Regions from separate parts of the Homo sapiens genome. Here regions 1, 2, 3, 4, 5 and 7 are each linked to region 6. Evidence: promoter capture Hi-C in human tissues and cell types (Jung and others, 2019). All regions are on one chromosome and are shown on one strand. Each heading gives the region's core, a stretch centred on a gene start or on the middle of the fragment in contact. The rest is flanking DNA. Distances are from core to core; before and after follow the strand shown.

Region 1 (3,949 bases), core at 1,123-3,622, 1.9 Mb after region 6:
AAGGGCAGCAAGGCGGGAGGAGGAGAATGGACCTTCTGGATGGTTCTGGATGGTTCTGGGTGGTTCTGGATGGTTCTGGGTGGCCTGCAGGGCAGTGCAGCAGGGAGCATCCTACCCGCCACGGGGGCTCTAAGTCAGCTGAGAGGGGGGATGTCAGCATCACAGGTGGGCAGGGTCCATCTCAGGACGGGGCTAGGTGGGTGCCCGTGAGCTCAGGACAGTGGGATCTCTTTCTCTCGGGAGGTTCTGCACCCACTCTTCGTGTCTTCATTGGCTTTCTCTGAATACCTGTAATAGAAATCATTTTCAGAAGCAAAACATCGCCGTGGTTTGCTGACGGAAGCCTGCCTTAGTGAGTTAGGGAAGCAGGCCAGAGCACACCCCTCAGCCGGACGGACGCAGCCTCCTGCCTGTGGTCCCGGCCTCAACCCAGAGCCTCACCTGCAGCCGGGGGTGTCGGTCACTCCCAGCCATCTGTGGTTGCTCCAGCCTGGGAGGGAGAGGGGATGAGGGCAGGGGCATCTCAGCGGCTCAGGGCAAAACTGCAGGGGTCATCTCTTCCCGAGGGCGGTGTCTCCAGGAGAGCCACCTGCCACGCCTTCACCCTGCAGGGCGATGGCACCTCCACAGCCTCTTTCCAGGATCTGCCTCTGTGACCACACGGGGTTGTCCTGGGCCCGAGCCTTTTCCCACAGCGCCGCCTTGTGGACACCTGTGCAGGAGCCAGCAGCCCGCGGAGGCTACCTGCTCCGGGTGCACATCCTGTAGGGGTGTGTGTGGGGGGACCTGAGGAGGGGCCCCACAGAGCTGCCTGACCAGGTGCTGCCCTGGGCCCTGCATAATGGCAGGAGGAGGGCCCGCGGTGCTCTCAGCCCCCGAGCAGAAGTCACCACTGGAAGGAAACTTGCCTGCCGTTTCCAGCATCTTGTCCCCGCCGCTGCGTGACCTTGGCCGGGCAGTGTGGTGGCACTTAAAATTGGAAAGTGTGAGCTTCTTCCCCACAGCCCCACCCTCTGGGTAGGTCCTGAAGCCCTGAGCCCCACAGGGGCCCCCTCTTCAGAGCCATGAACTTACAGTGTCCTTCTCTCTCCTCAGTGTCCCCAACTCCTGCCCAGCCAGTCCACGCGGTGCCGGCTCCTCCAGTTACCGCTTTGTGCAGAACGTGACCTCGGACCTGCAGCTGGCAGCAGAGTTTGCAGCAAAGGCCGCGTCGGAGCAGCAGGCAGACACGTCTGGAGGAGACAGCCCCAAGGTCTGAGCCCACCTGGCGCCGTGGTGCACCTGGTGACCCAGGATCGGGCCATAGTGACCCGGCGCGGGCGGCACAGACAGCCCAGGGCCTGCGGGCGTGTGCTCGAGGTGGTCTCAGCCCACAGGGAATGGAGCCGCAGCTGGCGGTAGAGCCGTCGGCCCTTTCTCGTTTTCGTGCCCAAATCATCCCCGTTGGTCATTTGCTGGTGACAGGGGTGGCGCCGTCACCGAGGGCCCCTCCCGCCACGCTCCTTGTTCATCTGCCGCTGGCAGCCCGGCGTCAAAGCCTTCATACAGCCCTTGAGCAGGATGGCGTTCTCCTTATAACTTTGTCTTAGTTCATTTTTGTCCAATAGCTGTTTTCAAATTGATTTCTGGAAGAGGTGAGAAATTTCAGAATTAAATTATAATAAAACCGAAGTTTTCCTTCCCATGAGGCAAAAATGGTTGTTCCTAGTTGAATGCAAGCACATTAATGGGATAGTTGGAGGGCACTGGGACGGGTGCCGGCAAGACGCGCACATTCTCGTGGGAAGGTTCCTCCCCATCAGCTGTGACGGGTGGGTGGGGTAGACTCAGGGACCTTGCTGGAGCTCATCCCGTGAGCCGTGTTTCTCCGCAGGATGAGTCAAAGCCGCCGTTCTCCTACGCGCAGCTGATCGTGCAGGCCATCTCCTCCGCCCAGGACCGGCAGCTGACCCTGAGCGGGATCTACGCCCACATCACCAAGCATTACCCCTACTACCGGACGGCCGACAAAGGCTGGCAGGTGAAGCCGAGTCCCCAGGGCCGGATCGCCTCTGAAGGCCCTTAGAACATGGAACTCACAGGCATATTGCTTCCCTTAAAACAGAAGAGGGCCAGTGAGGGGGCTCACGCCTGGAACCCTAGCATTTTGTGAGGCCGAGGCAGGAGGAGGATCAAGACCAGCCTGTGCAACATAGAGAGAACCTCTTTTCTACTAAAAATTAGCTGAGTGTGGTGGTGCACACCTGTGGTCGCAGCTACTCGGAGGCTGAGGTGGGAGGATCACTTGAGCCCAGGAGGTGGAGGCTGCAGTGAGCTATGATCACACCACTGCACTCCAGCCTGGGAGACAGAGAAAGACCCTGTGTCTACAAAGAAAAAAAATATCTTTTTAACTAAGAAGATAAATATAAAAGAGGGATGTTTTCACGAATGGCATATGGTACATCTGAAAGGCATTAGCGCTGTGATACCATTGTGTCTAAATACTCTTTTTTATTAGTTTCCTTCTTCTGAGCCCCAGAACTGAGAAGATGGATCTACACCTTGTTAGATTTTTGTGCTTGCTGTGCCTCACAATCCCACGTTAAGTTGGAAAAATGTACCATATACTGTTATTCAAACAATCCACATGTCTGAATTGTGGATGGCATTTTAAGAGCTTTGTCCACACCAGCCATGACTGATGCATGTTGCATTTGCCTGTATTTTCTCCAATGTCAGTGTAGCGCATCCACTAGCTTTGGTTTTTTGTTTGTTTGTTTGTTTTTTGAGACAGGATCTCGCTCTGCCATCCCGGCTGGAGTGTGGTGGCGCGATCTCAGCTCACTGCAACCTTCGCCTCCCAGGTTCAAGCGATTCTTCTGCTTCAGCCTCCCAAGTAGCTGGGGCTACAGGTGCCCACCACCACACCTGGCTATTTTTTGTATTTTTAGTAGAGATGGGGTTTCACCATGTTGCCCAGGCTGGTCTCAAACTCCTGACCTCAGGTAATCCTGCCAGCCTCGGCTTCCCAAAGTGCTGGGATTACAGGCGTGAGCCACTGTGCCCGGCCAAGACCCAGTGTTTTCTTTCTCCCAGATGTGCTCCTAGACCAGGATCTGTCTTTCTGTTTCACTTTTTCTGTAAAGAATGGTAATGGCAGCCAGGCACAGTAGCTCATGCCTGTAATCCCAGCACTTTGGGAGGCCGAGGTGGAAGGATTGGTTAAGCCCAAGAGTGTGAGACCCCATCTCAACTAAAAATACAAAAAAATCAACCCAGCATGGTGGCCCACGCCCATAGTCCCAGCTAGTCAGGAGGCTGAGGCAGGAGAATCCCTTGAACCCGGGAGGCGGAACTTGCAGTGAGCCGAGATCGTGCCACTGCACTCCATCCTGGGCGACAGAATGAGACTCCGTCAAAAAAAAAAAAAAGGTAAAATGGTAATTATGCGGTGTCAAATTTTGATAGGAATGACCTGCCCTGTGCCTCGGTGCTGCTCCCGTGAGGCCCAGCCAGCACAGCACCAAGGGCTCTGCACAGAGGGACGGCCTCCCCTCACCCTGGTCCCGCATCTGCTGCAGATTTGAGGTGGGTGGGACTCATTTTCTGATTTGCTGGTGATGGGTGAATATCTCTGCTTCCCTGCAGAATTCTATCCGGCACAACCTCTCTTTGAACCGTTACTTTATCAAAGTCCCACGTTCCCAGGAGGAGCCTGGGAAGGGGTCCTTTTGGCGAATAGACCCTGCCTCTGAAGCCAAGCTCGTGGAACAGGCATTCCGGAAACGGAGGCAGAGGGGTGTCTCCTGCTTCCGCACCCCCTTCGGGCCTCTGTCCTCAAGGTAAAGTTCTCTGAGCGCCCGTCCTCCAGCTGTTAGGAAAGCTGAGCTGCCCTGGAGTTTAGAGATACGTGGCGCAGTCAGCCCTCCGGATCTGTGGGCTCAGGCTCAGTGTACGGGCATGCAAC
Region 2 (4,119 bases), core at 1,597-4,096, 1.1 Mb after region 6:
GAATGGGCCGTGCGCATAACCCGGATGAGCGCCTTGTGTCCCGCTCACTTTGCGCGTTGGGCTGCAAACAGTGAACACTCACTGAAGTTCTGTCATGGGATGGAAAATTCATTGCACAAATGCAAGTGGAAGCAGGGAGGGCAGGATTCTTGGGAATGACGCCAGATCCAGGAGACGATCAGCTTGGTCTCATTCCCCACCACGAACCTCGTGTCCCGACAGCGTCGACACATCCCTTCATACACGGCTGGCCAGATGCTCACCCGCAGTCCACTCAGCGGTCCACTCAGCTGCGTCCAGGATTGCTGGGTCATTTGGAAACTGCATAGAGATTCATAGGCAGCTTCCCCTAAAAAGGGTGATATTCTGATGCTTAGCCCATCTGGTACAGCCACCATTCATCTCTTCCTTCCTTCCTTTAAATATTCCGCAAGTACTCATCTCAACCTCTTCTCACACCTAAGCCTATCCTGATAATTGTCTTTTCCTCCAAATCCTCTTTAATATATTTTTCATGTCAAAGGGGAAATCATCTTCTTTTGTAAGAGAATACATGATAAATTTATTTTCCCTGTGTCTCCCGGATGTCTAGAGCGGGAGTCAGGAAAAGGAAGCATTTTTGGGGGGACTTAGGAGGAAAGAATTCATTTTTTTTTTTTTTTGGTACCTTAGAATACAGAGACAGTGATCCACATTAGAAAGGTATGGGTTGGACTCTCCTACTTCCCTAGGATGTTTCTTCTACCAGTGTGGGTGACACTGGAGTTGGGGTGGGCCATCAGGAGATGGAGGTGAGCCTGCCCCGGATGGCTGCCCCCTGCTCAAGTGAGCCAGGGTGGGAGGAGATGAGGAAGACAGCCCCTCTGGCTGTGCCTTTTGGCCCCCTTTTCTCTCAGTTGCCCTAAAAGTTATTTATTCCTGGAGTTGGCTTTAGAAATAAATAGGAAGTATCTTGGCATAAGTCAGAGAAGGGTCCAAGGCAGACCATCTTCAGACGCAGTGAGACCCTCATCCTCTACTCCATCATACACCTGTTTTCCATTACGGAGTTCTGCTGTCCTCTAGTTCAGCTCTGCTCTCCAGCAGGCTCTCTCGGGTGGTGACCAGATGGCCGCCAATAACTCCAGACTTAAATCCTGCCTGGGCTGCGGGGCGGACACCCCATCTACTGTGCAGGCACTGCTGTTGGCTCCTGTGGAGCAGCTGTGGAGCAGGGGTGGGTGGAGTAGCCTCTGCCCATCCTGAGGGACCTCCTCCGTCCTCCAGTTGTGGCCTCTGCTCAGGTTCATATGGCCACACAGCAACACTGTCTACCTTTTATGCTTCTGCTGATCCCTACCTCTCCCAAAGACAGTAAGCTCGGGAAAAGGGGACAGTGACGGTGTTAGTGACCCCACCACACCCACTACAGTGTTGAGCACTCATCACATGTGTGTCCGTGGAGCTGGCCTATATGCGCTCTCCAGTATGAGGCTGTATTATGTCTAAGGATACACAAATACACGGCTTTAAAGTAGGAATATTTTTTAATTTACTACAAAGAAGCTCAGGGATTAAAGAACCATCCGTCTCTTAATTCTCATGGTCGATGGCTTTATCTTTTTGCATAGCGTGCTTGCCTAAAGCGAGGCACCTCTTCATATATAAATCAGCCTTTTTTTGAATAAAAGTTAAATACAACAGGATGGAAATGCAGCTTTGAAAACCTATAATGAGCAGGAGGGATTATTATGCATCTACACCCCGGGGAAGTGAATATTTCATGTTAGAAAAAGTAGAGGCCAAGGGCAAGGTTCATTTAAAATGTATAAAGATAATAAAAGCGCTCATGGATGGAAAGGCCATCTGAAAGGACTGTTCACTTTTTGGAGAGGCTGATGTGGAATCATTGTGTTTCTTTGCAGGGGGAAAAAGAAAAAGTCCTGTGTGCGAATGGCCCCCTGCGTGGTGCTGCGTCAGCAGACAGGAGCATTATTTTCCCCTGGAATGTGCAGCGCTTGGTGCCTCTGTTCTCTCTGTAGTGCACAGAGCCAAGCAGAGAGAGAGGCTGAGCGTTTCAAAGAGAGACAAAACAAAAACAGATTATTCTGCTGTGCTGCCACATCACCACAGCACAATACTCTGTTCAAAATTGTCTCTTGTCAGGCACATTCTTCAAACAGTATTATGTGTACAAAGACTCTCTGTGTTGGAGAATTTGCATGTGTAGGGAAAATAGCTGCATAGTGCGGAATATTTCCTGAAGAGGCCAGATTTCTGTGTGTGTATGTGTGTGCCGGGCATCTGTGTCCTTAGCATTTTGGAAGGTGCCTGAGCTTTCGGAGGTCACCAAAAAGTACTGAGTCATCGTGCCATTCGGTTACCTTCGGCGCTACCATCCTAGTCTGAAGCTTTTACAGGCCTCTAAGAAGGTCTTCCTGAGACCCCAGTCTTGTTTTTTGCATAAGTACGCTGCCCAGGCTCCGGTGATTGACAGGTGTAGAATGGGACGTCCTCCTTTCCCAGTTGCATGATACATAGTGTTCAGTGTTAATTTCTGGAATTCAGGTCACTTGAAAGGCCAATTCTTGGGCCTTTCTGCCTGAATGGCTGATGATTCCTCTCCTTGCATCCCTCGTGATCAATTATCCAGAAAAACTGATTATTCAGATTGTTAAATCCCCAGTTAGTCCGGATAATCGGCATTCTGTTGTATCCCATAAATGTGGCCCACGCTGTGGAGCAGGGTGGGCCTCTTCCTGGGGCCCTGTGGCTCCTCTCTCCCCAAGCTCAGGCGTGCTGCTCTGTCTCCCGCTGCCTGCTCTTCTGGGCATTCCGCTCTCCTCCAGCGCCACTGATGCACAGCCTTTCCAAGAGGGTGGCCTTGCCTCTGGGTCAGCTCTCCATTTTGGGGGGACTAGGGTGGCCCGGCTGGAGGCCTCTGCAGTCTTTGTAACTGGGACAAAAGTTGAAAGGACACATAAAAAAAATTACAGATAAACCTGAAGGCACATGTGCTCACATGGCTGCTGTGGCTGTGGGATTGTTCCTTCTGCCTGTGAAATGGCTGAATTTAAAACCCATGCTTCTTTGTCCTCTAGATCCTGTACCCCCACTTTAGGAAGGGGCAGCAATCAGAATTAGGCAGCCTACTGTCTTTGTTGGGGGGCTGTAACAAAGTGCCATAGACAGAGTGGCTTGTCAGCAACAGAAACTTACTGCTCACAGTTCTGGAGGCTGTGAAGTCCAAGACCAAGGCACCAGCACATTCGGTGTCTGGTGAGGGCTCATTTCTTGGTTTGCTGTGTCCTCACATGGCGGAAAGGGCAGACGGGCTTCCTCAGGCTACCTGAGGAAGGGCACTAATCCCATTCACAAGGGCTCTGCCCTCCTGATCCATTCTCCTCCCCAGAGCTCCACCTCTTAATGCTATGACCTTGGGTAGCAGGTTTCAACATATGAATTTTGGGAGGACACATTCAAACCACATCACCTGCCCAAGGTCTTACAGCCGGTGGTAGCCCAGGCCAGCCATCTCTTTACTGTACCCATTTTGTCTCTAGTTCTGTATTAGGTGTTGGAGGAGGGAGGTCACACAGATGTGAAAATGAGTCAGCTGAACAAGGAGCAGGCCCTGCCCTGGAGGAGCTTAAGGGGAAATTATAAATTTCCCTCAGTAGTGAATCATGCTATAATCTAGTGCAGGGTGCAAATATGTGACCTGAGGGAGCTGGATAAAGTACTCACCTTGCTGTGGAGACGTTTGACTTGCACCTGGAAGGATGACTCAGAGCAGAGATGAGGTGGGGGAGGGCATTCTAGGGAAGGGGCCAACTTGAGCAAGAGCTTGTAGGTGCGGGGGCGTGCAGGGCAAGGGGGCCCTGTTCACTTAGAACAAAGGATCGGCCAAGGAAGTCTGGGAAACAAACCAAACTACAGAGGAGCTTGAGCAGAGTCGAAGTTTATTTTGTTCCCTCGTTGAAGGTTTAAAGCCGAGGAGCTACGTGATGAGCGCTGTGTTTTAGGAAGAGGACTCCGTAATAGAGAGGATGAGCCAGTGGATCCATTTCTAAATGTGTTTCTTAGGCTATAGGAGGAGGAGCTTTCTTTATTTATTCCAAAATTTGCTTTCAGATGCTA
Region 3 (3,779 bases), core at 174-2,673, 1.9 Mb after region 6:
TCTGGGGCTTGGTCTTTATTTTTGTTTTTGTTGGGGGCAGCATATGGAACCCAAAAATAGTATCATAGCCTAGATTTGGAGCTTTGTGCCAGCCTTGTCTGTAGGATGACCCGTGTGGGTCTCACCTGGTGACTGGGAGTCCACAGGGGTCAGTTAGTAGCAGGGAGCTGCAGGGCGCCTGTCAGCAGAGACCGTCTCATTCCCCAAACCCAGGAGCCAGAGGAACTGACGCCCGGATAAATGCCCAAGCCGCCCCGGGTGGGATTAGTCGTCTACCTTCCCAGAAATACACCCTCCCATCCTGTGACTTGGATACAGTTTACTGATGAAATTAGGGAACCTCCTGCGCCTTACCAAGAAGCTGTGGCTGGAACTTAGTCAATGAAAAATGATTTGTAAACTCTTTGGAGCTGGCTTTGAAAGAATGTTTAAAATGATAGCTGATACTGCCAGACAACAGAACAGGCCGGCCTTAGCCATGAGGCTCCAGAAGAAGGAGAACTGCAAAGTTTGTGTCCGCTACCTCTGCCCTTGGGATGGAGCCATTCTGTCTGCTTGGCTGTACAGCCCTGGCATTGGGAACAGTGATTCATCGCCGCTTGATGAAAACATCTTTCCGTTAAGAATATCCACCTCCCTCGGGTTGGAGTCCATATTAACCAGGGAACACTTGCAGCCCTAATTTGGTTCCTAACCTGCAAGAAGATTTTGCTAGAATATCCAGCTTCCTTTGCAATTCTCTTTTTCTCTGTAAATTGTGGTGTGGACAGATTTTACAGGCCTGCCTACCTTTGGATTGGCCAATCAGGGATGCCATGGCGAGTCTAGAACTTCCTGTGGTGGTAGAAATGTTTTATATCTGTGCTGTCCAACATGGCCACCACTAGGCATGTGTGGCTGTTGAGTGTTTGAAATGTGGCTCAAGGCGGGGCGCGGTGGCTCATGCCTGTAATCACAGCACTTTGGGAGGCCAGGGTGAGAGGATCACAGGTCAGGAGTTCGACACCACCCTGGCCAACATGGCGAAGCCCCGTCTCTACTAAAAATACAAAAATTAGCCAGGCGTGGTGGCTCACGCCTGTAATCCCAGCACTTTGGGAGGCCAATGTGGGAGGATCACCTGAGGTCGGGAGTTCGAGACCAGCCTGACCAACGTGGAGAAACCCCGTCTCTACTAAAAATACAAAATTAGCTGGGCGTGGTGGCGCATGCCTGTAATCCCAGCTACTTGGGAGGCTGAGGCAGGAGAATTGCTTGAATCCAGGAGGGAGAGATTGCGGTGAGCCGAGATGGTGCCATTGCACTCCAGTCTGGGCAACAAGAGCGAAACTCCGTCTCAAAAAAAAAAAAAAAAAATTCCCACAAAAATTAGCTGGGTGTGGTGGCGTGCACCTGCAATCCCAACTACTTAGGAACCTGAGGCAGGAGAATCTCTTGAACCCAGGAGGTGGAGGCTGTAGTGAGCTAAGGATGCACCACTGCACTCCAGCCTGGGCGACAGAGCAAGACTGTGTCTCAAAAAAAAAAAAAAAAAAAGAATCTTGTGCTGAGTCTGACCCCTGACATACATTAGGAGGGGAGGCTTCCATTTGTCCCTGTCTTAACTCTCCTTCTTGAAGCCAAAGGAAAGACGCAAATCATCTAGGAGATTCTGATGGATAATAAAGAAGAGGGACAAGCTTGCTGATGTAGGGGAAATAAATCGCCGAGGCTCTGTCTAGCTTGGATTTACTGTGTGTATTGGCTGTGGGTGGATTACAGGTGAGCTCATAAATATTAGTATTTTGCTCATGTCCTTCCAGATTTGTAATTTCCTTGATAAGCAGGTGTGTGCGCGTGACATGTCTGTCGTCTACCCGTCACACGGTTGTACCAGGTAGCCTTTGCTTAATAAGCCCTCGGAGTACTCGTCCTTTGAGCTCGTGGGACTTGCGGGGTGGTCATTAAGCGTTGGTGTGAATACCGGGTATCTCCGTCTCCCAGAAGCTGCGAGTCCCTCGAGGGCAGGGGCTGGTTCTTTCGGGAGGCATTTTGTTCTCAGTGCCTCGCCCAGTGCCAGTGAAGACACACTTCCAGGTGTCATCTGCTATAACCTGCTAGCCCTTCTAATAGATAAACCCCAAAACCTTGCCTATGGAAAGTCCACAGTAGATGTTTCTGAATGGTGGGCAGAAAATGCCTCCTTCGGGCCAGGTGCTGTGGCTCACGCCTGTAATCCTAACACTTTGGGAGGCTGAGGTGGGTGGATCACTTGAGGCCAGGAGTTCGAGACCAGCCTGGCCAACATGGTGAAACCCCATCTCTACTAAAAATACAAAAATTAGCCAGGCATGGTGGTGTGCTCCTGTAGTCCCAGCTACACGGGAGACAGAGGCAGGAGAATCCCTTGAACCCGGGAGGCGGAGGTTGCAGTGAGCCGAGATCATCCTGCCACCGCACTCCAGCCTGGGCGACAGAGCGAGACTGTCTCAATAAGCAAAAAAAAGAAAATGCCTCCCTTAAGGTGTGATTCAGGGACCCAGGCTGGCACTGTCTGGAGTCCAGCGGCCTGGGCACGGCTGCACCTGCTGCAGTGCTGTCTGCATCTGGAGGAAAAGAGGGAGGCTCAGGGGAGGCCAGGCCCAGAAGTAGCATATCTCACTTCCACTCAAGCCAGTGACCAGAGCTCAGTCTCCGGCCACTCCAAGGGAAGGCAACGTGCTCAGGAAGAAGATGACAGTGGCCTGCTGAACAGCTAGCCGGTATTCACGGCCAACTTTTCAGATCAGGGTAGCCAGCTGCAGCCTGTGGGCCAGACCCTGCCAGCTGCCTGTGTTTGTAAATAAAGTTTTATTGGAACACACCAGGCACATTTGTTAAGTGCTGTCTGTGGCTGCTGAGCTGAGCCGGAGACCATGTGGACCCCAGAGCCTGTGTTATTTCCTTCTGGCCATGCCTGGTGGCCCGTCTGCACACCCCTGCCTTAGGCCACAGACTTCTACTCTTCCACATCAGTGCGTTTACCTGGGTTCATCAGCACCTTTTATTACCAATTTCTCTCCACATTTCTTGTCAGGTTGAATCCTGGGTTTTGGGAATATGAATAGGATCTTTTTTTCTTATTATTTTCTAAAGGTTAGTGTTTACATACAGGAAAGATAGGCTGTGTGTGTGTGTGTGTGTGTGTGTGTGTGTGTGTGTGTGTGTGTGTGTTTCTTTGGTATGAGTTTTATAGTAACTAATTTTTTTTTCTTTTTTTTATTTTGAGATGGAGTCTCGCTCTGTCATCCAGACTGGAGTGCAGTGGCGTGATCTCAGCTCACTGTAACCTCCACTTCCTGGGTTCAAGTGATTCTCTTGCCTCAGCCTCCCGAGTAGCTGGGATTACAAGGGTGCGCCATCATGCCTGGCTAATTTTTGTATTTTTAGTAGAGATGGGGTTTCACCATGTTGGCCAGGCTGGCCTTGAACTCCTGACCTCAAGTGATCCTCCTGCCTTGGCCTCCCAAAGTGCTGGGACTACAGGCGAGAGCCACTGTGCCCAGCCCTAATTTGTTATTAAAATTTTACGTTTTGAAAAAGTTGCACGCCTCCAAAAATGTTGCAAGATGAGTCCAAATAACTCCTGCATGTCCTCTGCCCAGATTTGTTCATTTTTAGTGCTCTGCCATGTTTAGCGTTTTCTCTATATATGTATGTTATCTGAGAGTGCGATTTTATATATGTATGTGTGTGTATATATATATATATATATCGTGCCCTTTTTCTTAATACCACAACATGCATTGCCTAAGAATAAG
Region 4 (3,917 bases), core at 145-2,644, 1.9 Mb after region 6:
TGGCCTACGAATGCTTTTACTTAGGAAGCACGAGACCTGTGCTGCAGACCGTCTGTTGGAGCTGGCCGCGGCAGGACGGCGATCACCTTCCTGGCAGGCCCCTCCTGGATTCTGCCCTCTGCTTCTGAAAGCGTTTCCTCCATCAGCTTTAGCAAAACTGGGCCTGGCAGATCATTTGAAGTCAGGAGTTCGAGACCAGCCTGACCAACATGATGAAACCCTGTCTCTACTAAAAATACAAAAAAGTTAGCCGGGCACAGTGGCACGTGCCTGTAGTCTCAGCTACTCAGGAGGCTGAGGCAGGAGAATCGCTTGAACCCGAGAGGTGGAGGTTGCAGTGAGCCAAGATTGTGACATTGCACTCCAGCCTGGACGACAGAGCGAGACTCCGTCTCAAAAAAAAAAAAACCGTGCCTGGGCCTTGGAGGTGCCTGAGTCCAGAAGACAGACAGCGGGAGCTCACTCCTGCCATGTCGCTCTTGTTTCTTCTCCCCTCTGCAGGGCGGCAGCTGCTTTGCCCTCAAGACTTCTCTTTTCGCCCACTCTATTCATAGGGGGAAATGACAACACAGGCGCTTTCCCTCAAACTCTGTGTATTCATACATCACCAGAGTGTTCAGAGAAGTGGGATATTTTGGTGAGTTAATTTACTTAATGTGCTTAGCACACAGTACCTGGTATATATAATAATAGCAGATATTAGTTGTCAACTACTAATTTTAATTTTTTTTTTTTACAAACGGGGTCTTGCTCTGTCACCCAGGTTGGAGTGCAGTGGCACAATCATAACCCATTGCAGCCTTGAATTCCTGGGCTCAAGTGATCCTCCTGCCTCAGTCTCCTGGAGTAGCTGGGACTACAGGCATGCACCACTATGCCAGGCTAATTTTTTTATTTTTATTTTTTGTAGAGACGGGGTCTCACTCTGTTGCCCAGGCTGGTTTTGCACTCCTGGCCTCAAGTGATCCTCCCACTTTGGCCTCTCAAAGTGTTGGGATTACAGGCGTGAGCCACTGCTCCCAGCCTATTATTATTATAGAATTTCATGTTAAGGTTTGCAGGTTATTCTTTTACTTTATTTTTAAATTTTATTTGTTTATTTTTTTGGCAAGGGCGTCTTACTCTGTTACCCAGCCTGGAGTGTGATGGTGTGATCTCAGCTCATTGCAACCTTCGCCTCCCGGGTTCAAGTGATTCTTGTGCCTCAGCCTCTGGAGTAGCTGGGATTACAGGCATGCAGCACCACGCCCAGCTAGTTTTTATATATTTAGTAGAGACCCGTTTCACCATGTTGGCCAGGCTGGTCTTGAACTCCTGACCTCAGGTGATCCTCCTGCCTTGGCCTCCCAAAGTACTGGGATTACAGGCTTAGCCACGGCGCCCGGCCTGATTTTGCAGGTTGTTCTAAAGTGCGGTGTTTCTCCTTTTAGGCTTCAGTGCTGAGGGCGGCCTGCTGTCCGTCCCTGCGGCAGACTGGGCCCTGTCCCACCTTCCCGTCACTCCTCGATGTCACATCAGAGTGCTCTCTCCTGGGTGGGAACCCGCGCACGGAGGAAACACTTTACCAGAGTAAACGAGATTATAACTTGTTTGCCAGAGAACCTCTCCTGTGGCCATGCCTGAACCTCTCCTGGGACTGTCCGTGGTCTTCACATTGGTGCTTGGACACCCGTCCTTCGGGAGGGGAGGAAAAGCGGCCGGTAAAATGGAGACAGTCGGTGGCGTGTGTTTGCCGATTGGACTGGCATTGGTATAGACAGATACCAATCACTGCACAGACATTTCCAGGGGCCCTTCCCCAGCCATGTTTAGTGGCACTGACCTCAGGCAGCTGGGCCCCCGGGACAGCAACCAGGGGACTGCCCTGGCCCTGGATGGCAGCCGGGACCGGCTCACAAGCTTCTGTTTGGAGCAGTTCTGTTGGCAGCCCCCCGCCTCCAGTGGAGATGTGACACGACTCTTTCTTGCCTGCCAAACGTTCTCTGATTCTTTGGATCATCGATCCTAACACAGCAAAGGCGGTATTGTTGCTGTCCTTTCAAGGTTAATCCAGGATCAGAAAAGTCTAATCATTTCTCTGTGGTTTTTGGAATTTCCAAAGAGCACCCAGATTTTAACCCTCAGTCCTCGGGGTTGTCCGGCTGCGGCTGTGCTGCTGTTGAGCATTAAGCTCATTCCACTTCACATGTAAACTTGTTTCTATGCATTCACCTCCTGGGAGACTCCACATTCCTGAGAGAACTGCATGGTTATGAACTCTTACTCGTGTGCACTAAAGTGCACGTGCTGTGTGTGTACTGACCCTCTGCCCTGTGGGAGCCACGTGCTGTGGGGAGAACAGACCAGCAGCAGATGGGACTCCTCCTCCAGGAACCTGCTACCAGCTAGGCGTGGTGGTGCAAGCCTATACTTCTGGCACTTTGGGAGGCTGTGGCAGGAGGATCACTTGAGGCCAGGAATTTGAGGCCAGCCTGGGCAACATAGTGAGACCACGTCTCTTTTTGAAAAAAAAAAAAAAAAAAAAAGAAAGAAAAGAAAACGTATTTTTCTTAAGTCGGGCATGAGAGTGAGCCAGGGAATTCAAGGAAGGCTGCCTAGATAGAGAAGGGGACCCTGGGGAACAGTCTTAGAGGACGCAAAGTCTATGCAGATAAACCAGCGTCTGGTACTTGGTATCAGTCAGGTGGCCAGTGAATAATGACTACGTGGAATTACTGTGGACAGCATTTTGAGATCTGCAGATTAAGCCATTTTGACTTCCCAGAAGCATTTTCTTAAATCAGCGTAGAGACAGAAGATGAAAGTTAACCTGAATTGCTCGTCGCAAGCAAGCTCTGCCCGGGTCAGCCCCAGAGGGTTGCAGAACACTGTGTCTGTGTCCGCTGTCTTAAAGAGCCTAGTCCATCTTTACGCGGTCTTTTTACGTCTGTTTAAGCCACACAGCATGGTGGGGAGCGGAGGTGATTTCGGAGCCTACTCTCCGATCCTCAGGATCCTCTTCGGGAGCAGCAGGCAGTGGCTTTCTCCTGGGCCAGGCAGGGTTGTCTGGGGAGTGGAACGTCTGCTAGAAATGCAGATCGCTGGGGCCACCGCCGTTTGGCCGTGTCAGTCATCTGGGGGTCCCTTAGCCTCCGCAGAGTAAAGCTGTGGGAGTCACCACGGGTCCCCATGTTGGGATTGGGAAGCAGTCACCTACCAGATGAGCGTTCCTTCCGCGAAGGGAAGGTGGGGGGATTTTGAAGGAGCTGTGAACACCGAGGGTGCCGTCCTCGCCTGTGCTGCCATGGGGTGCTCAGGACTGCCGGGCCCCGGGAGCCCCACCCGGCAGGACACACACCTGAGCCCCAGGGAGGGTCGGTGGCCATGGCTGTGCTTGGCCGCCTCTGTGGGGCTCTATCCTAATTCAGTGAGGTCTCTCGCCACCTTCCTCCAGGGTCTTCCTGAGACAGAGACCGAGACTTCAGCTTCAAAAAGAAACCCTGGCCGGGTGCAGCAGCTCACGCCTGTAATCCCAGCACTTTGGGAGGCCAAGGCAGGTGGATCACCTGAGCTCAGGAGTTTGAGACCAGCCTGGCCAACATGGTGAAACCCCATCTCTACTAACAATACAAAAACTAGCCAGGCCTGGTAGTGGGTACCAGTAATCCTAGCTACTCGGGAGGCTGAGGCAGGAGAATCGCTTGAACCCGGAAGGTGGAGTTTGCAGTGAGCTGAGATCCAGCCACTGCCCTCCAGCCTGGGCGACAGAGCGAGACTCTGTCGAAACAATTTAAATAAAAAAAAGAAAAGGAAAAAGAAAGCCCGGCTTCGGTCAGACCGTTGTCTGCGTTTTTCACCGCGTGTCACCGACTCAGCATATGGGCTTGAGTATCTCGCTGTCTTTTCTTTTTCCAAATAGGACATGCTTATTTGCCTGA
Region 5 (4,040 bases), core at 916-3,415, 1.3 Mb after region 6:
CTTTACCGTTCTGTGGGACTAATCTCCTTCTGCACCCAGCTGCCAGCAGGGAAAAGAAGGCAAAGAATGGACCTCTTCAGACCTGTTCAGGAGTGGAACGTCACTCTGTTCATCTTCTTGGGGCTCAGTCATGGGGCTCTGCCAGTTGCCAGGAAGCAATGGAGCAGTGTTTTTGGCCAACCTTGAGCAGACCTCTGCTGCCCTGTGCTAATGCTGAAAGTGGCTGCCTAATCTTCTGGGCTTTGTGGACTAACTTCCGCTGGCCAACTGTGGGTCATAGGAGCTTTTCTTGCCCCCCTCCTTAAATTTTTAGAAACCCAAAGGAAGGACGGCAATTAACGCTCATGAAGGACTCACTGTCACCTGACCCCGGTCCCTTCAGTCTGATCTGAATTAGTGAGGTTCTGTCTGGAGAAGGAATGAACCAGCTGCACCTCTGCCCCAGGCTTCTTGGATGAGAGTCACAGCTTGTGCTTGACAGATGGAGGGGCTGTTCATTCTGGACTAACCTAGGCTGTTAGAAATACAACTTAAATTCCTGACCTTTGTCCAGACATGGGATGAGGAGGAGGTATGAAGGGTTGAGATGGTGAACTGGGTCAGTGGCCAGAGGAAAAGAACAAGACTCCCCCACTCCTTCCCCCAGGGAGCCTAGATCCATTTTGCTTATTGATGTCAAACCCTCTTATTCGCTCTCTTTTGCTTCTCTTCTCTGACTCTCTGCGTTAATGAGAATATTTGGCTCCATTGTTTTTGCTGTCGTAGACATGGCTCTGTTTCCTGGAGACAGCTCCTGAGCCCAGCATGAGTCCTCCTTTCCTTGGGGCTCCCAGGGCACAGAATCGCTCTTGAAGCTGGGGAGTCAAGAGATGGCCAGGGCCTGCCCACAGCTGTTTCCACCCCAGAGTCCTCGGAAATGCCCCGGATCTGCCCTCTCTGCAACCCAGAGCCTCCCTGCTTCTGTCCCTGTACTACAATGCCGTGCAAAGAGACAGTCCCCCTGTTGTTGTTTTCAGTAGAAAAATTAATTAACTTGCTAGATGCTGGAAACTGCCTTAGGAGACACAGTTGGAACTCAGAGTGACTTTGATGGGAAATGGACAGAAAGATGAGCTAGGAAGCCAAGTGCGTGACGGGTATCAGAGAAAACCTCGCACAGTCAGCAGGAGGAGGCGGATGACGTGGGGGCACAAGGCCTGTTGGCATGGGTGGAGGTGGCTTTGGGGGGCTGCCATCCTCAGGACAGAGGAGTTTAAAAGGGAGGAAAGCATAGACACTTGGGGGGCCCAGGGCTCCCGGGCCTGGCCTGTCTGCTCTAAAGATGAAGAGGGAAACATAGAAGGTGGTGCCGAGGTGGGAGGGCAGCCTCTGAGGACAGCTGGAGTGAGGACGCAGATCAGCTCCCAGCAATAAGGAAAGGGGACTTGGAGCCCTGGGCGGTGCCACCCCCTCACCTCTTCCTAATGCTCATCTTATCCGTGCCAGGTGCTGCAATGGGTGCAGGTATTCCCAACACCACCCCTCCACCCTCGAGACAGCCAGGCCGGGGTGAGGAGTCTGCACCCTGGGCTTGGGTCCAGCAGCGCCCAGCACACCGAGGGCACCAGCACGTGCCCAGTGCATCTGCACGTGCCACCCGCTCTGTGTGCCACAGCGTGGAAGGGCCTGGGAAGCTCTGGATAAAGGCTCCTCTCATCCTTTCTTGCTCATTCCCCGGGTCCCGTTGGTGACAGGTCTGAACCTGCCGCCACCCTTGTAGGTTACTGTAATGCACAGTGGGTTGCAATGCACAGAAGCCCCCTGGGTTTCCTCAATGCTGGTTAACTTTCAGCCACCAGCACCAAGCCAAAGCTCCTGTGCCACTTTGTGGCTTTATTTCTTCCTACTCTTCTCAGAGGGCAGGAGGTGAGGGTAGACAGGAGGACTCTTAAGCAGTAGCAGGGAGAAGCAGAACCATGGCCTTGTGGGAATGCTGTTAGGGCGTGGCGTGAACCCTGGAGCCCACCAATGAGAGCCCCGGAAGAGCAGCCGTGGTGACAACCAGTGTGCTTCTGAGAGGACCAGTGTTTCAGGATGGAACTGCCCAAGCAGCAGGGCTGGGCCCAGTGTCCCTCGGCTCTCCTTCAGACTGAAGCTTTCATTACGTTCCAAAGGAAAGGTGGAGACGCACCCACATGCAGCCTGGGATTGTGGTCACGTGGATTTCAAAAATCTCTGTTATCTTCACTGTCTGAATCTTTGTGACAAAGGAGAGAACTTGAGAAGTTCAGAGGGACAGTTCTAAATCCAGTAAAAGGCAGGCCAAGAAAATAGTTTTTCAGAATTAAAACTTCTGCCATAACCAACAAAAACTTATGGATAAAATATAACTTTCTGGAATCTTAAATGTATTGGCCAGGCAGGGTCCTCACACCTGTAATCCCAGCACTTTGGGAAGCTGAGTCTGGAGGATAGCTTGAGTCCAGGAGTTCAAGACCAGCCTAGGCAACATAGTGAGACCCCATCTCTACAAAAAATACAAAAATTAGCCAGGTGTGGTGGCATGCACCTGTAGCCCCAGCTCCTTGGGAGGCTGAGGCAGGAAGATGGCTTGGGCCTGGGAGTTTGAGGCTGCACTGAGCTATGATCGCACCACTGCATTCCAGCCTGGCCAACGGAGCAGGTTATTATGCCTCTAAAAAATAAGTAAATAAATGAATTCATCAACACACTCATAAGAAAAACAGGGAAATCCTCAGGTGTCAGAGGCATAACAGGAACTAGAAAGAGTTCAGCAGGAAGTGCTGGGCTGGTGCCGCAGCTGCCCTGGGTGGGATAGGATCAGGTTGGATCTTTCCTGGTGGTTTCAGGACCTGGGGTAAGGAGTCTGCACCCTGGTCCTGGGCCCAGCAGTGCCCAGCACACTGTGGGCACCAGCACGCATCCAGTGTGTCTGCAGGTGCCACCGGGAACTGTAGATACACTGGGCAGGCCATGCAGTAACATGAGAGTCAGCTTTGAATCTGTGTAAGGGAAGAGTTAGGGCCTAAACTCCTGCAGTTGAGACACGGCTCTTGAAGGCCTTTCCCTCCTTCCTAGGAGAGGCTGAAACTCTGCCTGCAGAGGTTTGACTGTATGTCTACCTGGACTCTGAGTAGAGAATGAAAAGTCAGTCTGAGCCCTGTGCCCAGCTCAGGACTGGGTTTTGAATTTGCATTATATGGATGGCCCAGGAACTCCCAGAACAGAAATTAATGTAACATTTGGTTCCAGAAACCAAAAGCACGAGCAACTAAAGAAAAAGTAGATACATTAGACCTCATCAGAATGAAAACCTTTATGCTTCAAAGAATGTCATAAAGGAAATGAAAAAAACTCCCCAAATGGAAGAAAATATTTGCAAATTATGTATCTCATGAGGGATTTATATCTAGAATATATAAAGACTTCACAACAAAAAGACAAATGACCCAGTTAAAAACTGGGCAAAGGATCGGCATAGACATTCCTCCCAAGGAGATTTACAAATGGCCACCAAGCACATGAAAACATGCTCAACATCATTAACTGTTAGGGAAATGCAAATCTAAGCTGCAATGAGATACCACTTCACACTCCTAAAATAAGATGGCTAAAATAAGAAAAGTTGGACAATAACAGGTATTGGTGGGCATAGAGAAATTGGAATGCTTGTACGTTGCTGGTGGGAATATTAAATGATTCAGAAACGTTGGAAAACAGTTGGCATTCCTCAGGAGGTTGAGCAGGGAGTCACCATACGACAAAGCAACTCTACTCCTAGGTATGTACCCAAGAGAGCAGAAAACATATGTCTACACAAAATCTTGCACATAAATGTTCATAGCAGCTTTATCCATAGTAGCCGAAAAGTGGAAACAACCAAAATATCACTCAGTTGACAAATGGATAAATAAAATGTGGTCTATGCATTCAATGGATGATTCAGCAATAAAAAGGAATGGAATTCTGATACATGCTACAGTGTGGGTGAACCTTGAAAACATTAGGCTAAGTGAAAGAGACCAGGCACAAGAGACCAC
Region 6 (3,983 bases), core at 134-2,633:
ATGACTGCTTTAGTTGGGCTGTAGGTACTTTACAGTCAATCTACTATTTTCTCTACTTTTGTATACATTTGAAGTTTTCGTATTAGAAAGTGTGGCTCACACCTGTAATCTCAGCACTTTGGGAGGCCCAGGTGGGAGGATGGCTTGAGACCAGCCTGGGCAAGAGAGTGAGAGCCTTTCTAAAAAAACAGAAAAGTAAAAAGAGACTCATGGCTGGTTCCCGTCCAGTCTCCACTGCTCTTCTTCTAAGCTCAGCCGGAGGGCACGGCCGGTTGGGCTCCTATCCCACAAATCTTCCAGTGGGAAATGGACAGATACCATTCTGCTAGGGCACATCCAGGAGGGGGCTAAGTGCCAAGCCCCCACTCCCCATCCCCAGAAGCTGGCCCGAGTTCCCACTCCCACGGTCCCCAGGCACCCTAGAGAGGGCAGAGGCAGACCGGGCGCCATGACTCATGCCTATAATCCCAGCACTTGAGGGAGACCAAGGCAGGAGGATCACTTGAGGCCAGGAGACTGAGACCAGCCTGGGCAACACAGCAAGACCCCATCTCTACAAAAAAAAACTTAAAAATTAGCTGGGCTGGTGGTGCGCGCCTGTAATCCCACTACTTCGGGAGGCTAAGGAGGGAGTAGGGCTTGAGCCTGGGAGGTCGAGGCTGCAGTGAGCTGTGAGGGCGCCACTGCACTCAAGCCTGGGAAACACAGCGAGACCCCATCTCAAAAAGGGCGAGACGGGGTGGGGCAGAGACGACGCCAGCAGGCCTCGGGGAATGGGTCGGGGGGGAGTGGGGTGCAGGCGGGGCTGGATCCAGCATCCTCGCCCCAGGGGTCCCCGCCCGCGGCGGCGGACCACGGAGGGGCCCGGGGCGGGGGTTAGCGCCCCGGCCCACCTGGGTGCAGGTGCTGGGCGGGGGGCGCGCGTCACCTTGAGGATGTTGTCGAAGATGGTGTCGCGGAACTCCAGCAGCGCCTTCTGGTCGAACTCGCGGCCGTGGATGATGCGCATCTGCTTGAGGAACGTGGACTTGCCGCTCTCGCCCGCGCCCAGCAGCAGGATCTTCACCAGGCGCCGGACCGCGCGCCGCTCGCGGGCCAGCAGCGCGTCGATGTCGCGGCTACGCCTCCGGGCCTCGCGCTCCGCGTCGCGCGCGCCGCTGCCCGCCCTGCGCTCGCGGGCCCCGCCGGCCTCGGCCGGCAGCAGGCAGCGGCTGAGGGTCCGCACCACCCCGGACATGGCCCCTCAGGCCGCGGCCGCGCCCCGCCGGCGCCCGGGGGCCATGGACGCTCCCGCCGGCGAGGGCGAGCCCGGGCCGAGGCACCGCCCCACGCCCCGCCGCTCGCCTCAGGCCGCGTCCGCCGCCGCCGCTGCAGTCGCTCCGAGGCCCGCACTCGTCGCCCGGCCGCCACTCGGGCCCGGCGGAGGGGCGGGCGGCGCCGCGTGAGGCCCGGCGGATTGGGCCGGCTGCCGTCCATCTGGCCGTGAGAGCCCTTCGATTGGCTCATCTCGCCAAGGGAGGCGGGCATCCCTTCCGGCCTCGGGGCGGGGTCGACGCCGAAAGAGGCGGGATCTTTGAGGTGAAGGCGCTTCTCATTGGACGCCCAGGCTGAGGTTCTTTCTTTCAGAATGAAAGGGAGGCGGGGTCGCCCGGGAGGCGGAGCGATCGTCCGCCATGGCCAATTATAATTGCTCTGAGTGGACATCAGACGTGCCCAACGGGCTTTGGATTGGGTGTTCGGGGGACGGGGCGTGACGAGAAGTGCCAGGTGTACAGAAAGATTCTCCCTTGGTTCCCAGATTGGGTCCGCCTGTGAGACCAGGACCTCGCGGAGTAGCCCAAAGGCTGGGAAATGCTGATAAGAGGTTCAGCTGCTCGTCGTATTCCCTCCGATGATCTTGTTTCTACACTATTTTCCTTCCAGAAACACTGGAGGGGGATGGGCCATAAATTTCAAACACATGCACCCTTTGAGAGTGGCATGGGCTTCTAGGAGGCTTTGCGAAAAGCTGACTAATCACTAAAATCACCAGAAGCTCCCCCAAAAGTCTTATGTCTCACAGTGATTGAGAGAGTGGGGTCTGGAGTTGCTGGGCCTGAGTTGGAATCTCCAGTCGACCAGTTACTAGGTGTACTAGTTGCATAACTTTTTTTAGCAGCTTTCCCCACCCCCCCCAACAAACCCTTTTGGATGTTCTTAGCTTCCGTTTCCTCATCTGTAAAACGGGGGTGTCATTGACGACATTGGTTATGGCTTGACATTGCTCAAATCGTCATGAAGATATAAACTGAGAACATGAACTTACCAAACACTTAGCACGTGAGCTAGCCCAAAATCAGCTCTTGATAGAGATCAGCTGATTACAGATTCTTGACTCTCCCAGATCTACTGAATCAGAACCTCCTAGAAGGAGCTCAGGTATCCCTTAAGATTAAAGGCGTGAGCCGCCGCGCCTGGCCCAGTGTGTAGTCTTTTATCTCTCGCCACCCCCCACCTTTTACCCTGAGTCCCCAAAGTCCAATCTCTGTGCGGTGTCTGTTAACTCTGCTGATTATTTCTTTTGCAGTGCCGAAGCTTTTTAGTTTAATTAAGTCCCATCTATTTATCTTTGTTTTTGTTGCATTTGCTTTTGGGTTCTTGGTCACAAAGTCTTTGCCTAAGCCAACGTCTAGAAGGATGTTTCCGATGTTATCTTCTAGAATGTTTATGGTTTCAGGTTGTAGATTTAAGTCTTTGATCTATCCTGAGTTGATTTTTGTATAACGTGAGAGACGAGGATCCAGTTTTATTCTTCTACATGTGGCTTGCCAATTATCTCAGCACCATTTGCTGAATAGGCTGTCCTTTCCCCACTTTGTTTTCATTTGCTTTGTTGAAGATCAGTTGGCTGTAAGTATTTGGCTTCATTTCTGGGTTCTCTATTATGTTCCATTGGTCTCTGTGCCTATTTTTATATTAGTACCATGCTGTTTTTGTGACGATAGCCTTATAGTATAGTTTGAAGTCAGGTAAAGTGATGCCTCCAGATTTGTTCTTTTTGCTTAGTCACAGATCTAAACTCCCCAGAAGGCTGGGCACGGTGACTCACAACTACAGTCCCAGCAGTTTGAGATGCTGAGGTGGGAGGATCACTTGAGCCCAGGAGGTCAAGGGTGCAGTGACCTATGATCGTGCCACTGTACTCCAGCCTGGACAACGGAGCAAGACCCTGTTTCAGAAACAAAACAAAACAAAAACCAACTCCCTGACAACCTTGAATGCACATAATATGTATTATTTGTCACTTGCTACAAATACTACAAATCATGCCATGAATTTGTATCACTTATGAGTCAAGATTTTGTAATCCTTGGAAAATGATTAGAAAGTCTTGCTTGTTTGTGGAAATGACCTCCCATAGGAGGCCAAATATGGCTGGGCACGGTGGCTCATGCCTGTAATCCCAGCACTTTGGGAGGCCAAGGCAGGCAGATTATCTAAGGTCAGGAGTTCAGGACCAGCCTGGCCAACATGGCGAAACCCTGTCGCTACTAAAAAATACAAAACTTGGTTGGGTGTGGTGGCGGGCGCCTGTAATCCCAGCTACTGGGGAGGCTGAGATAGGAGAATTGATTGAACCCGGGAGGCGGAGGTTGCAGTGAGCCGAGATCGCACCATTGCACTCCAGCCTGGGCAACAAGAGCAAAACTCTGCCTCAAAAAAACAAAAAAAAAAAAACAAAAACGGGAAGGCCAAATACTAGGTCTGGCATGGTAGCTCACACCATGTAATCCCAGCACTTTGTGAGGCTGTAATCCCAGCACTTTGTGAGGCTGAGGTGGGCAGATCACTTGAGGCCAGGAGTTTGAGACCAGCCTGGCCAACATGGTGAAACCTCCATCTCTATTAGAAATACCAAAATGAGCCAGGCATGGTGGTGAACGCCTGTAATTCCAGTTACTTAGGAGGCTGAGGCATGAGAATTGCTTGATCCCAGGAGGCTG
Region 7 (4,041 bases), core at 707-3,206, 1.9 Mb after region 6:
CAATTGTGCACTGCAGCTCTATTCGTTATTGTCAAAATCTGGAAACCGACCAAATATTCATGGACGAACAAGAAAAGCTAAGTACGGTACGATTCCATTTGCATGAAGTATAAAAAGACGCAAAACTAATCTCTGGTGATAAGAGAGACTAGCAGTTACTTGTGGGGGAAGGGAGTGGGCGTTGACTGGGAGGGGGCCACAGCGGGGAACCTCTGGGGAGCTGGAAATGGTCTAGGTCTTGAACTCAAACCATGGCAGGAACATTTACACCACAGAAATTATCAAACACAAATCAACCCCCGGCTCCCCACCGTCGCCAATGGAGCCGAGGCTTAAGACATTTGCAAATTTACCACCGATTTCTAGAAATGTAAATAGTGGAGTTCATTTAAGATTTGTGCGCTTTGGTGTGGACGTTTTACCCTAGTAAACGTTAAACACTGGCAGTAGGCTTTCCATAGACTACCTGTCACCAGCTTTCCTTTGCCAGTCTTCAACCTGCGGCTCCAGGGGCACCCGCCGCACTCCACCGACTCCCATCCACCGCTCACCATCCACCGATTCCCATCTCTTCATTCTCTGCACCAGGTGCCCTCAGACATCACTGGGCGCCCTAGGGCATCTCAAAGCCATGTTTGGAACTCCTGCAGGAAGCCCTCCCTCCTCCTCCTCCTTCCTTCCATCCAGGGGTCTTCTCGGGGCTTATCCCTTCAAGGCCTAACCTTGACCCACCCTATCTACGCAACATTGATTCCCACCCCTACCCTATTCCCCAGAACCTTCAGCAGTGCCTAGCGCAGCTAGGACTCAATCATCGCTTGTCCACTTAATGAATGACTCTTGGCACAAATTTCCTCGTCCTTTTCTGCCCCAGACAGACACCCCACAAACATGAAGTTACCCTTGATTTTTCCACTTTCTTCCTCCTGCCTGCAAATTCCTCAATCACAGGTGGTGCAAATCCTACCTCTAAATGGTACTGAATCTGCCTACTTTCGGGGCAACCTCCCTTACCTGGACCACAACTGCACCAGCCTCCTTTCTCCCTCAGGAGCTTCCCAATCCATTATCTCCCCTGCGGCCAGAGATCAGTTTCCTCCTGGGGTGCATTTAAGCCATAGGAAGCAGATCGCTACCCTAGGCCCGTCCCTCCCCACCCCTTGGTCTGGACACCCTCTGGGCTCATCTTAGGCCGCAGTCGCCGAAGCCTTCCTCCTCCGGTTGGACCCCCAACCAGGTCAGGCTGTCATAGCGTTTATCATGACGCTGGCGTGTCGCCCTGTGTCCCTCGGCCGTCTGCAGGATGGCAAACTTATGGCCAGGGCCCAGCACATTTGGGCACCCAACACATCCGTTAGAATGAACAGAAACTTCCCCTCTCCGAGCCTGTGGCCTCATCTGTAAAACAGAGATCGCGAGATCCCATGAATACCGTGGGGATTGAATAAGGGATTTTTTCGTTTCAAGCAGCAGGAACAGCGCGGGATGGGTGCTCAATAAATGGGAGCTCAAAAAATCCCCAAAACTGCCCAGAGCCGCGGCTATTCCTTGCAAACTGCTGGACACTGCTGGGCTCAGCCCACAAGTGTCGGAGTTTGCATCAGATTTTCAGGTCGTACTTAGCAAAGGGACTCCCGCACGACAAAGCTGTTTACGAAACAGAAACCAGAACTGGGGCAGTGACACTTTGGGGCCAGCAATGCCCTCTCCCAAAGCCCCAGGCGCCCAATTTCCGCCGAAATGCTTTCCGGGGTCGAAGGGCGCCGGGGCTCCAGAGTGCCGAGGTTCCGGGGTCGCGCGATTCCGCAGCTCCCAGGCGCCGACCCGGACCCCCGGCCGCGGCACCTACGCCCCGCCCCAGTCGCTCCACGCCAAAGCCCATTGGTCGGCAACCTGTCCCTCCTGCTCATGTGATGCGGCACGTGACGCAGCCACGTAAGGCCGCTGCGCTCACGTGACGCGGTCCCGGAAGTTGACCGGGGTGCGGAGCTCCTGGGCTGCAGCTCCTGGAGTTTCCGAGGTTCGTGCGCGTCTGGTGGCGGCGGCGTGATGTTCTCGGCAGGAGCGGAGAGTTTGCTCCACCAGGCCAGGTACGGGGGAGCTGCGGCCCCGGCCCTCCTTCCTGCATCTCTCCCTAGGGGCACACGGGGGTGGGTCTCACAGGGCAGGGGCTTGGGCGCCAGCCTTGCAGGAACCCGACTGGACTCGCCCTCGAGACTTGGGGATCGGGTAAGGCAACACGGCGGCCAGGCTTGGGGTGAGGAGGTCGGGGAGGGTCATGGTGGGTCCCCGGAGGAGGTGACACTTGAGCAGAGTCTTGGTGAGTGAAAGCAAGTGGGGTGGGACCCAGTCGACAGTTTAGTCAAAGGCTTGGCGGTGAGAACTCCGCGTCTGGCAGGAAATCGGGCAGCCGGGAGATTTCAGTGCCTCACAGTCAAGAACGCAAAGTCACAGTGTCCGGAGGCCTGCTAAGGAATAAGGCTGTGTGCCAGGCTGGGGAGCTGGAGGCCATCCGAGGGCTTTGCGGAACCGTGGGAGGGTTTTGTGACTTAAAAAGATCTCTCTTGCGCGGATGTATTAGCTAGGCTGAGAAATCACCCTCCAGGCTGGTTTCAGGCTGTGTCTGGACTCCCAGTAACGAGTGAGTAGCTCCTTCCTCACCAACTAACCAGTCATGGGGGAAAACAGTGTAAGCCAGGACTGAACAGACTCACGGTCCACCAAACAGGCAAAGACTTCATACTACATGTTTAAAAGAAGAAAATGCTGACCGGGCGTGGTGGCTCACGCCTGTAATCCCACCACTTTGGGAGGCCAAGGCAGGCGGATCACCTGAGGTCAGGAGTTCGAGACCAGCGTGCCCAACATGAGGAAACCACGTCTCTACTGAAAATACAAAAAAAAAAAAAAAAAAAAAAATTAGCCGGGCGTGGTGGTGGGTGACTGTAATCCCAGCTACTCGGGAGGCTGAGGCAGGAGGATTGCTTGAACCTGTGAGGTGGAGGTTACAGTGAGCTGAGATGGCGCCACTGCACTCCAGGCTGGGGGACAGAGCGAAACTCCGTCTCAAAAGAAAAAAGAAAAAAAGTAAAGAAAATACAGCCAGCACTACAGCCCCTTGGTAAACGTAAACAAACTTGGTGAGGTGAGAGGCCGAAGCAGGAGAAGTGCATGAACCCAGGAGGCCGAGGGTGCAGTGAGCCAAGATCGCACCACTGGACTCCAGTCTGGGTGACAGAACGAGACTCCATGTCAAAACAAACAAGCAAACCTGGACTCAGAGCTAGACCAATTGGTGGGAAAGATTCGGGTGGTTGAAATTGCTGTGATTATAGTGAGTGAGGTCTTGAAGGCAGGTTAAGTTCTAAAGCCCGAACAGGACAAAAATCTCTGATCAAAATAACCCTTAAGAGTCCACTCATTAGGAAGAGGCTTGGTGAATATGCAGCACCATCTCCCAGCAGCTCAACATAGGCAACCTTCCCTTCAATCCTGGACAGATATGTCATTCATGTGAATGTGGGGACTATATGAAAATGAAAAATACTGGCATCTCAGCATGTAACATGTTAATCCCAAGGTCCTTGCCAAGAGACAAGGAAAAACACCCACTGAGAACTTCATTCCCAGTCACATTCTGCTCAAGGTCATAAACTTGTGACATGAAAAACAAAAGGAAGAGCCCTCTTTATTTATTTATTTATTTATTTATTTATTTATTTTTATTAGAGTCTCTTTTGAGACAGAGTCTCCCTCTGTCGCCCAGGCTGGAGTACAATGGCGCAATCTCAGTTCACTGCAACCTCCGCCTCCTGGGTTCAAGCAATTCTCCTGCCTCAGCCTCCCAAGTAGCTGGGATTACAGGCGCCCGCCACCACACCCGGCTGATTTTTTGTATCTTTAGTAGAGATGGGATTTCACCACATTGTCCAGGCTGGTCTCGAATTCCTGACCTCAGGTGATCCGCCTGACTCGGCCCCTCGAAGTGCCGGGATTACAGGTGTGAGCCACCATACCCGGCTGAGCCCTCACTATTTAAAT

What was found. The method cuts DNA at HindIII sites, captures the fragments that hold promoters and counts their contacts. A contact is called where the count stands out against the background at its distance.
Region 1: a fragment that was not itself captured here is called in contact with the fragment with the promoter of GNA12 in region 6 in 1 of the 25 tissues and cell types used here (dorsolateral prefrontal cortex).
Region 2: a contact is called between a fragment that was not itself captured here and the fragment with the promoter of GNA12 in region 6, in 1 of the 25 tissues and cell types used here (dorsolateral prefrontal cortex).
Region 3: a fragment that was not itself captured here is called in contact with the fragment with the promoter of GNA12 in region 6 in 1 of the 25 tissues and cell types used here (dorsolateral prefrontal cortex).
Region 4: a fragment that was not itself captured here is called in contact with the fragment with the promoter of GNA12 in region 6 in 1 of the 25 tissues and cell types used here (lymphoblastoid cells).
Region 5: a fragment that was not itself captured here is called in contact with the fragment with the promoter of GNA12 in region 6 in 1 of the 25 tissues and cell types used here (dorsolateral prefrontal cortex).
Region 7: the fragment with the promoter of AP5Z1 here is called in contact with the fragment with the promoter of GNA12 in region 6 in 2 of the 25 tissues and cell types used here (lymphoblastoid cells and spleen).

What each region holds. Positions count from the first base shown.
Region 1 is chr7:4,753,364-4,757,312 of GRCh38, forward strand. It overlaps FOXK1 (forkhead box K1), which reads left to right. Exons shown (of 9, transcript NM_001037165.2): 3 at 1,096-1,252; 4 at 1,874-2,020; 5 at 3,631-3,824. Among named protein-coding and RNA genes, the nearest start is that of AP5Z1, 20 kb to the right of the region's middle. RefSeq lists enhancers at 389-943, 448-537 and a silencer at 535-829. The HindIII fragment of the contact is 4,385 bases long and covers 181-3,949 here.
Region 2 is chr7:3,908,183-3,912,301 of GRCh38, forward strand. All of the region lies in intron 5 of SDK1 (sidekick cell adhesion molecule 1), which reads left to right. Among named protein-coding and RNA genes, the nearest start is that of SDK1-AS1, 560 kb to the left of the region's middle. RefSeq lists an enhancer at 2,723-3,922. The HindIII fragment of the contact is 4,501 bases long and covers 597-4,119 here.
Region 3 is chr7:4,694,599-4,698,377 of GRCh38, forward strand. The region is part of intron 1 of FOXK1 (forkhead box K1); the gene reads left to right. Among named protein-coding and RNA genes, the nearest start is that of FOXK1, 14 kb to the left of the region's middle. The HindIII fragment of the contact is 7,115 bases long and covers 1-3,779 here.
Region 4 is chr7:4,726,227-4,730,143 of GRCh38, forward strand. The region is part of intron 1 of FOXK1 (forkhead box K1); the gene reads left to right. LOC124901581 (a long non-coding RNA gene) reads left to right here. Exons shown (of 2, transcript XR_007060199.1): 1 at 1-637; 2 at 1,431-3,795. Among named protein-coding and RNA genes, the nearest start is that of FOXK1, 46 kb to the left of the region's middle. The HindIII fragment of the contact is 6,895 bases long and covers 1-3,917 here.
Region 5 is chr7:4,114,795-4,118,834 of GRCh38, forward strand. The region is part of intron 25 of SDK1 (sidekick cell adhesion molecule 1); the gene reads left to right. Among named protein-coding and RNA genes, the nearest start is that of FOXK1, 570 kb to the right of the region's middle. The HindIII fragment of the contact is 4,788 bases long and covers 1-4,040 here.
Region 6 is chr7:2,842,925-2,846,907 of GRCh38, forward strand. GNA12 (G protein subunit alpha 12) reads right to left here and starts at 1,384. Exons shown (of 4, transcript NM_007353.3): 1 at 929-1,384. The coding sequence starts at 1,237. RefSeq lists enhancers at 691-1,508, 1,471-1,765, 1,748-1,877 and silencers at 858-907, 1,248-1,577. The HindIII fragment of the contact is 31,365 bases long and covers 1-3,983 here.
Region 7 is chr7:4,773,667-4,777,707 of GRCh38, forward strand. It overlaps AP5Z1 (adaptor related protein complex 5 subunit zeta 1), which reads left to right and starts at 1,957. Exons shown (of 17, transcript NM_014855.3): 1 at 1,957-2,090. The coding sequence starts at 2,050. RefSeq lists enhancers at 699-1,375, 1,376-2,052, 1,426-1,475, 1,516-1,605, 2,036-2,105 and 2 more and a silencer at 1,786-1,915. The HindIII fragment of the contact is 20,755 bases long and covers 1-4,041 here.